3 separate regions of the Homo sapiens genome follow, and regions 1 and 2 are each linked to region 3. Evidence: promoter capture Hi-C in 16 types of primary human blood cells and fetal thymus (Javierre and others, 2016). All regions are on one chromosome and are shown on one strand. Each heading gives the region's core, a stretch centred on a gene start or on the middle of the fragment in contact. The rest is flanking DNA. Distances are from core to core; before and after follow the strand shown.

Region 1 (3,214 bases), core at 672-3,171, 700 kb after region 3:
AATTGTATTTCACTAATGTGTTCGCTGTTGACTCAGGTTATCATGGTCTTGGAGAGGGATTGTTGTATTTTCATACAACCAGCCCTGCATGTCAGGTGGTTAGCTTTTGTTTTGAGATGAGCTGTAGAGGATTCAGAAGCTTTAGGGACTTAATAGCCATAAAGTGGGTTGGTTGACAAAGGTGCAGAATAAAAAGAGAGATCTAGAGGGCATTACTAACTTCTGAATGAAAGGTATGCATATCACTGGATTTTTACAGTAGCAGGTGATCATGAGTTACTGTTTTTAAACTTGCTCACTTTTGCCTTACGTAAGGGAGGTATTTTGATAAAATCCATGGTTACATTGTAAAATAATTATTCATCCATTAAAGCAATTCCAATGGTACTATTTTAGACATAAAGCATACCAATACTGTTTGTAGCCAAATTTAATAATGATACTACAAGAATTATTTTTCTACCCAAGAACTTTTTTTTTTCTCTTTTCCCTCCTTCAATTCCTGGCATGGGAGAGAGAATAATTTCTGTAAAACCGAAGTCTTTTCTCAAGACAACGTGATTATGCAGAACATTAGGTCTCCTTTTTTACCAAACAGGAAGTGCTTTGAACTTGTTGGATGATAACATGTCAGCATTTATTTTTGATGAACAACTCAAGAATATGAAATTGATTTGAATTAAAAATTATTTAATAAGTTTCATTTAATATTCATCCTTTGGAGCTGTAGTCAGCTCCAAATGAACTCTAATAATCTTTAAATCTGTTAAATCACTTTAATAATCTTCATCTTTTTAATTTAATTGATGTATTTATTGTCTTTTAATATCCAGAAAGATGACCATTTCTTACCTTGGAGAAAGGACATTAGGATTATATACCTCACTGGCTGAGTTTAGAAAAGTAGTAATTATCTTTCAGTGATAACAAGTGTATAGCTCATAATAGAAGAATTCATATTTCCTAAGATTTTTAAAGAAGTACTGCTCAATTTAGCAAAATTGTTACAGTTTTACAATTGCACCTCTTCTCTTTTTAGGTGTTAAATTGCATTTGGACTTTTATGGCTAAACAAAACAAATATTTCAAGAGGTAAGAAGGTACATGATGAACACACTTCCTTAGTTAAATGAAAATAAAGGAGTTTTAAAGAGGAAAATTGAACTAACCAAGTTGAAATAAGGTCTGAGGAAAATCTAGATCTCAGACACAAAGGAAATCTTTATCTTTTAAAAAATTCCAAAAGGCTTGCACTTATACCAAGCTTTTGAGTTGAGAATAAAGGCCAAATGCAATAAATTTAAAAAAAAAACCTGTTGGAAATGTTTAACGATATGCATGGAGACATATTCTTCAATCCAGATATGAGCTTGGAAATTTAATATGAAGCTTGTATTACTAAATGTGCAATTATAAAAGGGAGGATGTGCAGTGGCCTAGAATTTTCTGTACATGGGCTTGGACTTTGGGGAATGGAAGATTCGTGTTTGAATTCATGAATTCATGAGTTTTGTCATCATGTACACATCATGTCATTTGAGCAGCCTTAGCTTCCTCATCTGCAAAGGGACAAGACTATCAATTATTGCACTGACCTTTAAGACCATTTTCACCTTATTATTTTATAATTCTATGATTTATAATGGTAGTTTTTCTCTAGATAGCATTTTTCTGAGATCCAATTGGATCCTTTGATCCTTTGAGATACAATATTTTTGCATTTAAAATAACATATGGCATCCTTTCAATTACCTGAAGAAACAGAAAAAGGTTTATTTCAACTTTAAGAAGACTTATTTTTAATAATCCTGAAATTTTGAGGCATTAACTATTACTAGACACAGACCAGATTAGGAACTGGGGCTTATTAACATTTTGCTCTTCTGAAATTTTTATCATTAAGTCATTTTTGTGAAGAAGTTTCAAATAACATGGTTAAAATTCTCAGAGAATAACAGAAATGAAAATGAGTAAGATCAACATCAAACCACCACTATCCATCCTGACAAATGCCTTATAGTTCCAAAAATTCTCACAAACTGTTTCATAGATTTGGGCCTTGATCCCATCACCATTCCAGGAAAAAACAAATACCTACGTGAAGCAAGTTGGTAACTTAGTCATAACTCTTAAGATAGCTCTTGCGTTAGGGAAGCTGAAGTGTGAAAAGACAATGAGGATTTCCTTTCATTTGGCAGGACAAATAGGATTATAGAGTAAATCCATTGAAGAGGAAGAGAAACAAGGCACCTTGACCCTGACTGAACTTCCTTGTGTGATTCCCCCCAGGGGTGAGGAGAATGAGCTGACAGATTCTCAGTAATGCAGCCAAGGATGTGAAGAGGCAGGTCCGGAGCTTGCTGGAAGGACCAACTGTGCACACTCACGTTGGCAAGGTAATGAGTGGGAAGACAATACGTGCTCCAAAGCATCAAATGGCCTTGCTGTCCCTCTAAGCTTCTTCCTCTATTATATAACATCCTAACAAGGTTTTAATGAGAACCCAAATAGTGTTTTATTTAGCTGTGAACTGTAAACCACTTGGATACACTCTCCACTGGCAAAGTAAAATAACAGTTTTTATTACACCTGTGGTATAGATAGAAGGATAATGTAGCCAAATGAAAATCTAAAACAATCGATTGTTTCTGCAGCAAGTCTTTTGCTATGATTTGCCCCAAATATGCAACTTGATGGCTCAGCTTCACTCCCTTTCCTTTCTTTGACTCATGAGATTCAAAGAGCTCTAGAATGTTAAGGAGAGTCAGAAGGAACAGGACAGGAAATAGAGCAGTAAAAAGAAGAAAAGGTGCTAGATTTTATACAACCTGGGCAATCAGGACAGAAGTTTCTAAGACTTACTGCTTCAAATACTCTTCAAGGATCAAACTAATTAAATCAAACAATGTGAAAGGGAGGACAGTCATATTCATTCATTCATTCATTCATTCATCATTTGTTAAGTTACTCAACAAATGAATGTTTTATCGCCCACTGTGTCCTTGCTACAGCCTAGAGGTGAACTTGTGTCCATGACTCTTTCCTTCCTCTATAAACAGGTTCAGCTCCTCACCTGCCCTCCCCCTTGGGCTCAGACACCTGAAGCACACACTTCGCTGCATGCACTGCTACCTCTGCCTATCTTCCCAGGCTGGCTTCCTGAATGCCACTGGCTCTTCTTATCAGTTCACTGAATCTTTGCTCCTACCCTTGG
Region 2 (3,236 bases), core at 66-2,565, 730 kb after region 3:
TGCCAAAGTCTTGCTTAATGTACCACACTGCTTTAAGCATTTGTGTTGAGAAAAAGAAAAGTTTAGAGTATTAGGGGGTTTTGCTCCTTAAAAGGTCTTTTATGAATTATTTTTTACCATGGAGAATCCTTCTGTGAAGAGAATAACTTTCCCTTTTATACCTTTTCTGTTCTTACTATTTTGAATCTATAGAATTCATCATATACCTCAACTTTTTTGTCCATGAAAATATGCATCATCTGACTTTGAATAAGTCACACAATAATAAATTCAGATTAGAATTGTCCACACCTTTGTTTCTTCTAAATTTTGGGTATGTAAGCCTCTGATAATTCACATGACTTAATTAAGCAGAAATCTGGCTCCAAGTGTTGCCAGATGGTCACTATATGGATGAGTAAGACATTAACAAGGTGCAAAATGGGCTAAACCAACAAGCCCATTCCTTCAGAGTCCAACTTTGTTGTTTATTTCCCCTGGTGGCAGGAAAACTGGAATGAAACCATATCTCGTATGTGCGATGCTAGCCAGACATTGTGTGCATGTGGTAACAGGAGCCTTATCTCTCAGACCATTAATAAGGATTGGAATAAGCAAAGAAAGGGAAGCCAATAGCAATTGTTAGAGTGATTTTTGAACTCATTACTCATACAGCTGTATAAGAGACTTTAGAACTTCAGCCGACTTATCTTGCTGCAGCAAGTGGCAGTTGTACTTGCTCATGCCAGTGGCCTGAACACAAGAATGCTCAGGTATGAGAAAACACATAGAAAAGGCTGCTATAAGAGATTAATTAGAAAGTGATCATTCATGTTGCTAAATAATTTTTCACTTTCTAAAATATTAACTATGGTAATTATTTTTTCTACTAAGCTTTCTCAAAGCTACTAACATAATTTTAAGAAAATGAAAACCATGAGTTGCATGCAAATATAAAATAAACAAGTCAAAGATTCTATTCAGCTTATCTATTAAAGAAGGAATCAGTAAGATGTTTATGCTGGTTGCAAAAGCATTTGAGGACTTAGGCATTTATAAGCAATTTAATAAAGGAATGTCAGGATAAGATTGCTACACTGCATTAAAAAATTCTGGTTAATATCCTACAGGATACCATTACCTTTGGGATAATCTGTTCCACAAGCCAGACTTTATTTTCATTTTTACTGGACAAAAATTTATAAGTTTCGTGGTAATGTCACTACGTTTGAGACTTTTAATCAGTAGTATATAGTAAATCAAATTATATTCTCCTGGATAATCCCTTGGGAAATCCCTTGGGTAATCCCTTGGGTAAATCTTAAACCCATAAAATATTGGAAGAACTTGCAATCTACTTTTTTGTTTCTTCCTTTTTTCAATTTTGGATGCGTTTCCTTATCAGGGCATTTAATACATTTAAAAAATTAATTATGTGCTTTTTTACGAACATAGGCATTATATAAATATGTAATAACCATCTGGGGAAAATCAAATTATTAGATAAAAATAAGAGTTGTATACAGAATGACAAGTACTTAGAGGAATCCTTTGAGATGAGGTAATATGGACTGAAGCCCCCCTTGGATTTACTGCTACTATTTATTGAATGCTTACTATGTGTTGGTTGTCACATTAGGTGCTTTATAAACACTATCTCTAATGACTTTGAAAATAATTCTTTAATGATAACTGAAGAGCTGGGAGTCAGATAACTTCCTGAGGTCATACAGTTACTGAGTATAACAGCCATGGCCCAAACTCTGACTGTTGAGCTCTAAAGCTTGTGCTAACTTCTGTGCTCTGCCTCTTCTCACCATATCACTACAGGGGTAAGAATCTTACAATTTTGCATATTTAATTTTAAGCATAAATATTGACCCCTAATACTTGTTTCAGTATCAAACCTGGAGCTGATATTTAATGGAGATTTACTGATTGCTAGACACCGTGCTAGTGCCTTGCCCTAGCTGTCATATTTAATCATCCCAACAACCCCATGAGGGGGATCAAAAAGCACTATTAGTTGCAGGTTATGACAAAACACAATAACATTTAACTAAAGCACTATTTACTATATTTAAAAATTCTCCAAGTATCTTGTGTCATGTTGTATCTATAAAAGAGAGTCTCTTTCTCTCTCATAGTTTACAATTCAAGAGAGACTCTGTAAAAGTGAGAACATATTGACATACATAAAACTATGTAAACATGAAACAGAAACATAGATTAAACAGAGATGTAGATCATGTACCATTAAAAGCTTTCCTAAAACATTGTGAACGTTTCATAGAAAAAAAATGTATCAATGGTACCTTCTATCTTTTGGGAAATCATGAGCTTGCTTTATTATGATAGTGCAGAGAATAGTTGAATAATTTGGACTCTATGACTCTCAGCCCTAAATTCAGAAAGTGTAGTTATATACCCCAGTGTTTTTTATTTTTTTAAAAAAACCTCTAGGCAGGAGATATTTTGGTAGGACACAAGACCACAAATTTGTCATACTATTCATATTTTATTTTCTATTTTTACTATAGTGGATAATCCCCAAATAACTATTATGGAGTTAATCTATCACCATCTCCTTCCTATATCTTTTCTGAGGGAAGGTTGGAATTAATGGATGAAGATATGTAGACATCTATGGTGTTCTGGGAAGCTGAGCATGTCTGATATAAGGCATGTGAGGTTTAAATGCATGCATGTGTTAGATATGTTGTCTAGCCTTTCTAGCCCACTAACTATAAACTACATATCTATCTTATGTATCTATTGGTGTGGAAACTTTACTGTATGGGAATTTGGAGAATCTTAGAGTCAGGAGAGATCTTTAGAGATCATCACATCCAAATGCTTTTTCGAAGAAGATATTTGTTTCACACCATTGCTGATGTACAGTTGTCCATTCAGTCATAGAGAACTAGCTATCCCTCCTTGGGCTCTTTATGACTTACAGTATATTTGTTTCCGGGAGCTGCCATAACAAATTCCCACAAACTGGGTGACTTAGAACAACAGAAATTTATTATCTCACAGTTCTGGAGGCTAGAAGTTTGAAATCAAGGTGTTGGTAGGGCCACGTTACCTTGAAAGCCTCTAGGGGAGGATCTTTCCTTGCTTCTTCAAACTTCTGATAGCCCCAGGTTTTCCCTAGTTTATGGCAGCATAACTCCAATCTCTGCCTCCCTCTCTACAGAGCGTTCTTCCTGTGTGTCTACCTCTTCACATGGTCATCTTTTCCTCTCATAAGAACA
Region 3 (3,352 bases), core at 3-2,502:
GTACCCTGATTTGATATCTTTTTAAAACGGTCTTAAATGTTGTGGTGACTGAAAACAAATGTGGAATAAGAACACCAAATAAATGATTTCCTCTTAGGAAAGGATTCAAGGGCCAAATAAACCTAGAGTTTAATACATAGTCTGGAAGATATTTCTGAAGCCGAGGGTGGGGGATCTGGCGGCGGGGCGGGGGAAAGACAGTAAATTGGTAAGATAACCAAATGTTAGGTAGCGGTTGAAGGCAAGTTTGGGGTGGGGGGTGAGAAGAGGGGAGGCCAAATACGCCCAGGAAATAAAGGAGATAACGAGTCAGGACTTCCTGCAGTTTCAGTTCGGTTTGGGTTTTGTTTTGTTTGTTTTGCAGCCTCACGCTCTCTACTGAGTCCCCACATCTCTGAGGGTCTCCCTAAATGAGTTTCTCCCCATCTGTAACTTTCGGGCAGTTACAAAGCACGCCAGTGTTCCTCTTTTGCTTCGCCCCTCTCCGGGGCGGGAAGGGAACGGCATGACATTGTCCTTTTTGCCGCTGATGAAATCATCCTGCAAGTGCTAGGATGAAGTGCGAGCGAAGCTGCGGCCAACGCCGCGCTTTCCAAAGCCAGGCCAACATTACTAAGAGGGAAATTCTGCTTTAGCTGCCGGGAATCCCCAGGGGTATCTCTAGAAACGCGGGATATCCCCGCTGCTCTCTTGGCGGCCAGTTCAGAAACCGCTCAGAACTCAGTCCAGGGCAGGTACTGGAGGGCGAAGTGCGCCGGGCGGGGGCGGCACTGACCCCGAGGCGGCGGGAGCGGCGAAGGCGCCGGCGTCCCCACCCGCATCCTGCACCTGCCTCGCTCCCAAGCCCTCCCGGTCCCCGGTCCACACCCGCGCCGGAGCGCGCCGGCTGGGGCAGGAAACCCGACTCGCGCGGGCGGGCTGCGGTCGGGGATCCCCGCGCGCTACAGGGAGAGGGCCCGGGGCGCGCCCCTTGGGGCCCCGACCGCGGCAGCCAGCCTGGTGCACGGGTCAGGGTGCTCCCCAGGCCCCCGGGCGGGCGGGCGTACCTCGGATGTAAGCGCACTTGCCCTCGTCCAGCTGGCTGGAGGCTGAGCCGCCCATGACCGCGAGCTGCCTGTGCTGAGCGCGGAAACTGCCCGGTCCGCGCCCGCTGCTAGCTCCTGGAGGTTGATCCGACGGCGAACCCGGCTCTGAAATTAAGAGCAAACTTCCTTCGAGAGGCGAGAGACAGGAGGCAAGAGGCGTCGCCTTCTGGGGCGCCTCCTCCAGGTCCGCGCCTTCTGATGATCCGTGGGCCGGCCCGGGGGCTGTCTTCCCGCCCTCGCCTAGCTGGTGAGCTCCGACGGGCTGGCAACCGAGGAGGTCGGCCAGCTCCTCCTCCTCGCCCACGGTCACTTCTTGTTTTCATCCCTTTGGGGCATCCAAGAAACACCTTGGAGGAAGTGGACCATTTCTCAAGTGACTAAATCTCTGTGAGCTGGAACTTTCCCAGCTCACATCCTTCGAGGTGGAGCTCAAGATCACGTTGCCTTGTAAGTGTTGCTGTCCAAGAAGCAACAGTTCTTCCCAAGCATTACCTGGGAGCCTGTTAGAAATACAAAATCTCAGCGCTTTCGTCCACCACCCCTCTACACACACACAGACACACACACACTTAGAATCTGTGGGAGTGGAGCCCAGCAATCTGTGTTTGCACAAACCCTCCAGGGAATTCTGATGCCCGCTGAAGTTTGAGAACTAGAGGTAAACTATACCTTTCTGCAGGCGAGAACCTGGACCAAGGAGGGAGTGGGGAAATGAGGAAAAAAGGAAAGAGAAAAAAAAATGGAAAGACAGGGAAAAACTAAGGCTTGGTCCTGCAATATACTCCCAGCCCTGAAACTTCCTAAGACTTGATGAACGTCTGTCCTTACCCCTTTACTTTCCATTCCTCTCCTTAACTGGAAATCAATCATTAGAAAAGATATTTGTTCTTTTCCCACAACCACTATTTAGCTTGGCAGCCTCTCGGAACAAGACCCACTTGGGCAGAGGGGTCACCGCTGATTTCATCCTATTCTTAGTAGTCAGTTATTTTGCGACTCCTATTGACTTAACCTCAAGGTCAAATGGTCTGTATACACTAGAACCAGGCCTGAGGAGGACTTTGAAGGCTTTCCCACACACCCCCGCCTTCCCTATTAGCTAACTTGCACTTTAACACAATTATTTCATCACACTCACACCCAATCTCTCACACTCTACATTCCAATCTGTCAGTAAATCCTGTCAATTCAGCTTTTAAATATGTCCAATAGCCAACCAATTCTCATCCCCTCTACTGACATCCCATATCATTCCTCACCTTATTCATTACACTAGCTGCCTAACTGATCTACCTTCTTCAGAGAAAAGCCACGACGTCTATCAGGGCCTAGGTGGAGTTTCCTCTGTGATCTTCTCTACCACCACTCCTTGTTCTCTCTGTTCCAGCCCTACTAGCCTTTTTTTTTACTCTTTCTGAGACACATCAAGCTCAGGGCCTTTGCACTTGTTTTTCATTTCTGTAGGATGCTCTTCCTTCAGATATTCACATAGGTTACTCTCTCAGTCATTTCATTCAAGCCTCCACTTTAATGCTAGTAATTCAGAGAGGTTCTCCTTGACCCAGGAACACCAGCCATCACCTCTCTCTGCCACTTGCTCTTCATTATTTCTGTTTCATATCACTTAGTATCATCTAACACATATTTCTTTGTCTATCTTCCCCCACTGCGATGTAAACTCTATAAGATCAGGGATTTTCTTTGTTGTTATTGTTGTTTCTTGGGGCTTTTTCCCTCAAAATTTCTGTTTCCTTTTTTATTATTATTTTTCCTCTTATGGCAGGGATTTTTTTGTCTATTCTGTCCTCTGCTGTATTTCAAATGCCTAGAAGAGCACCTAGCATGTAGTAGGTGTCCAGTAGATAACCACTGAATAAGTGAATGAATGAAAAATAAAATGTAAAAATCTGTACTCAACAAAAACTGTGATCTCAAGCATTTCCAGATAACAACTCAATGATTTAAAATATTTAGTGTTGAACTCTTCTCTCAATACTCTAGTTGGCTCCTAGAATTAAGTGTATCTTCTTGGAGAAGTAATTTCTTTGACTATATAAATTGCTATAACTGTGCCTCAGAATACTGTTATTGTTATTGAAGAAAACTAGCTTGGATCTCCTGCCAGAAGTGTAGTTTTAGCTTGTCACCTCTACTTCAGGAATACTCTGAGAAAGGACTGATTATCCTCATCTACCCTTATCCACTCATTTGTAAATATTCACGGATGAAACAGAGTACAAAGATGGATTCACACAAACAAATGGAAA

Evidence for each region. Contacts are between HindIII fragments. The CHiCAGO score rates a contact against its expected background, and 5 or more counts as called.
Region 1: a fragment that was not itself captured here is called in contact with the fragment with the promoter of NIBAN1 in region 3 in 5 of 17 cell types (megakaryocytes, naive B cells, total CD4 T cells and 2 more); the score reaches 8.0 in megakaryocytes.
Region 2: a fragment that was not itself captured here is called in contact with the fragment with the promoter of NIBAN1 in region 3 in 2 of 17 cell types (total CD4 T cells and naive B cells); the score reaches 5.2 in total CD4 T cells.

What each region holds. Positions count from the first base shown.
Region 1 is chr1:185,677,160-185,680,373 of GRCh38, forward strand. It overlaps LOC107985239 (a long non-coding RNA gene), which reads left to right. Exons shown (of 3, transcript XR_001738340.2): 2 at 2,290-2,396. Among named protein-coding and RNA genes, the nearest start is that of GS1-204I12.4, 32 kb to the left of the region's middle. The HindIII fragment of the contact is 1,068 bases long and covers 1,388-2,455 here.
Region 2 is chr1:185,703,812-185,707,047 of GRCh38, forward strand. No RefSeq gene overlaps it. Among named protein-coding and RNA genes, the nearest start is that of HMCN1, 29 kb to the right of the region's middle. The HindIII fragment of the contact is 889 bases long and covers 872-1,760 here.
Region 3 is chr1:184,973,256-184,976,607 of GRCh38, forward strand. NIBAN1 (niban apoptosis regulator 1) reads right to left here and starts at 1,253. Exons shown (of 14, transcript NM_052966.4): 1 at 1,047-1,253. The coding sequence starts at 1,101. RefSeq lists an enhancer at 438-607 and a silencer at 718-1,037. The HindIII fragment of the contact is 8,420 bases long and covers 1-3,352 here.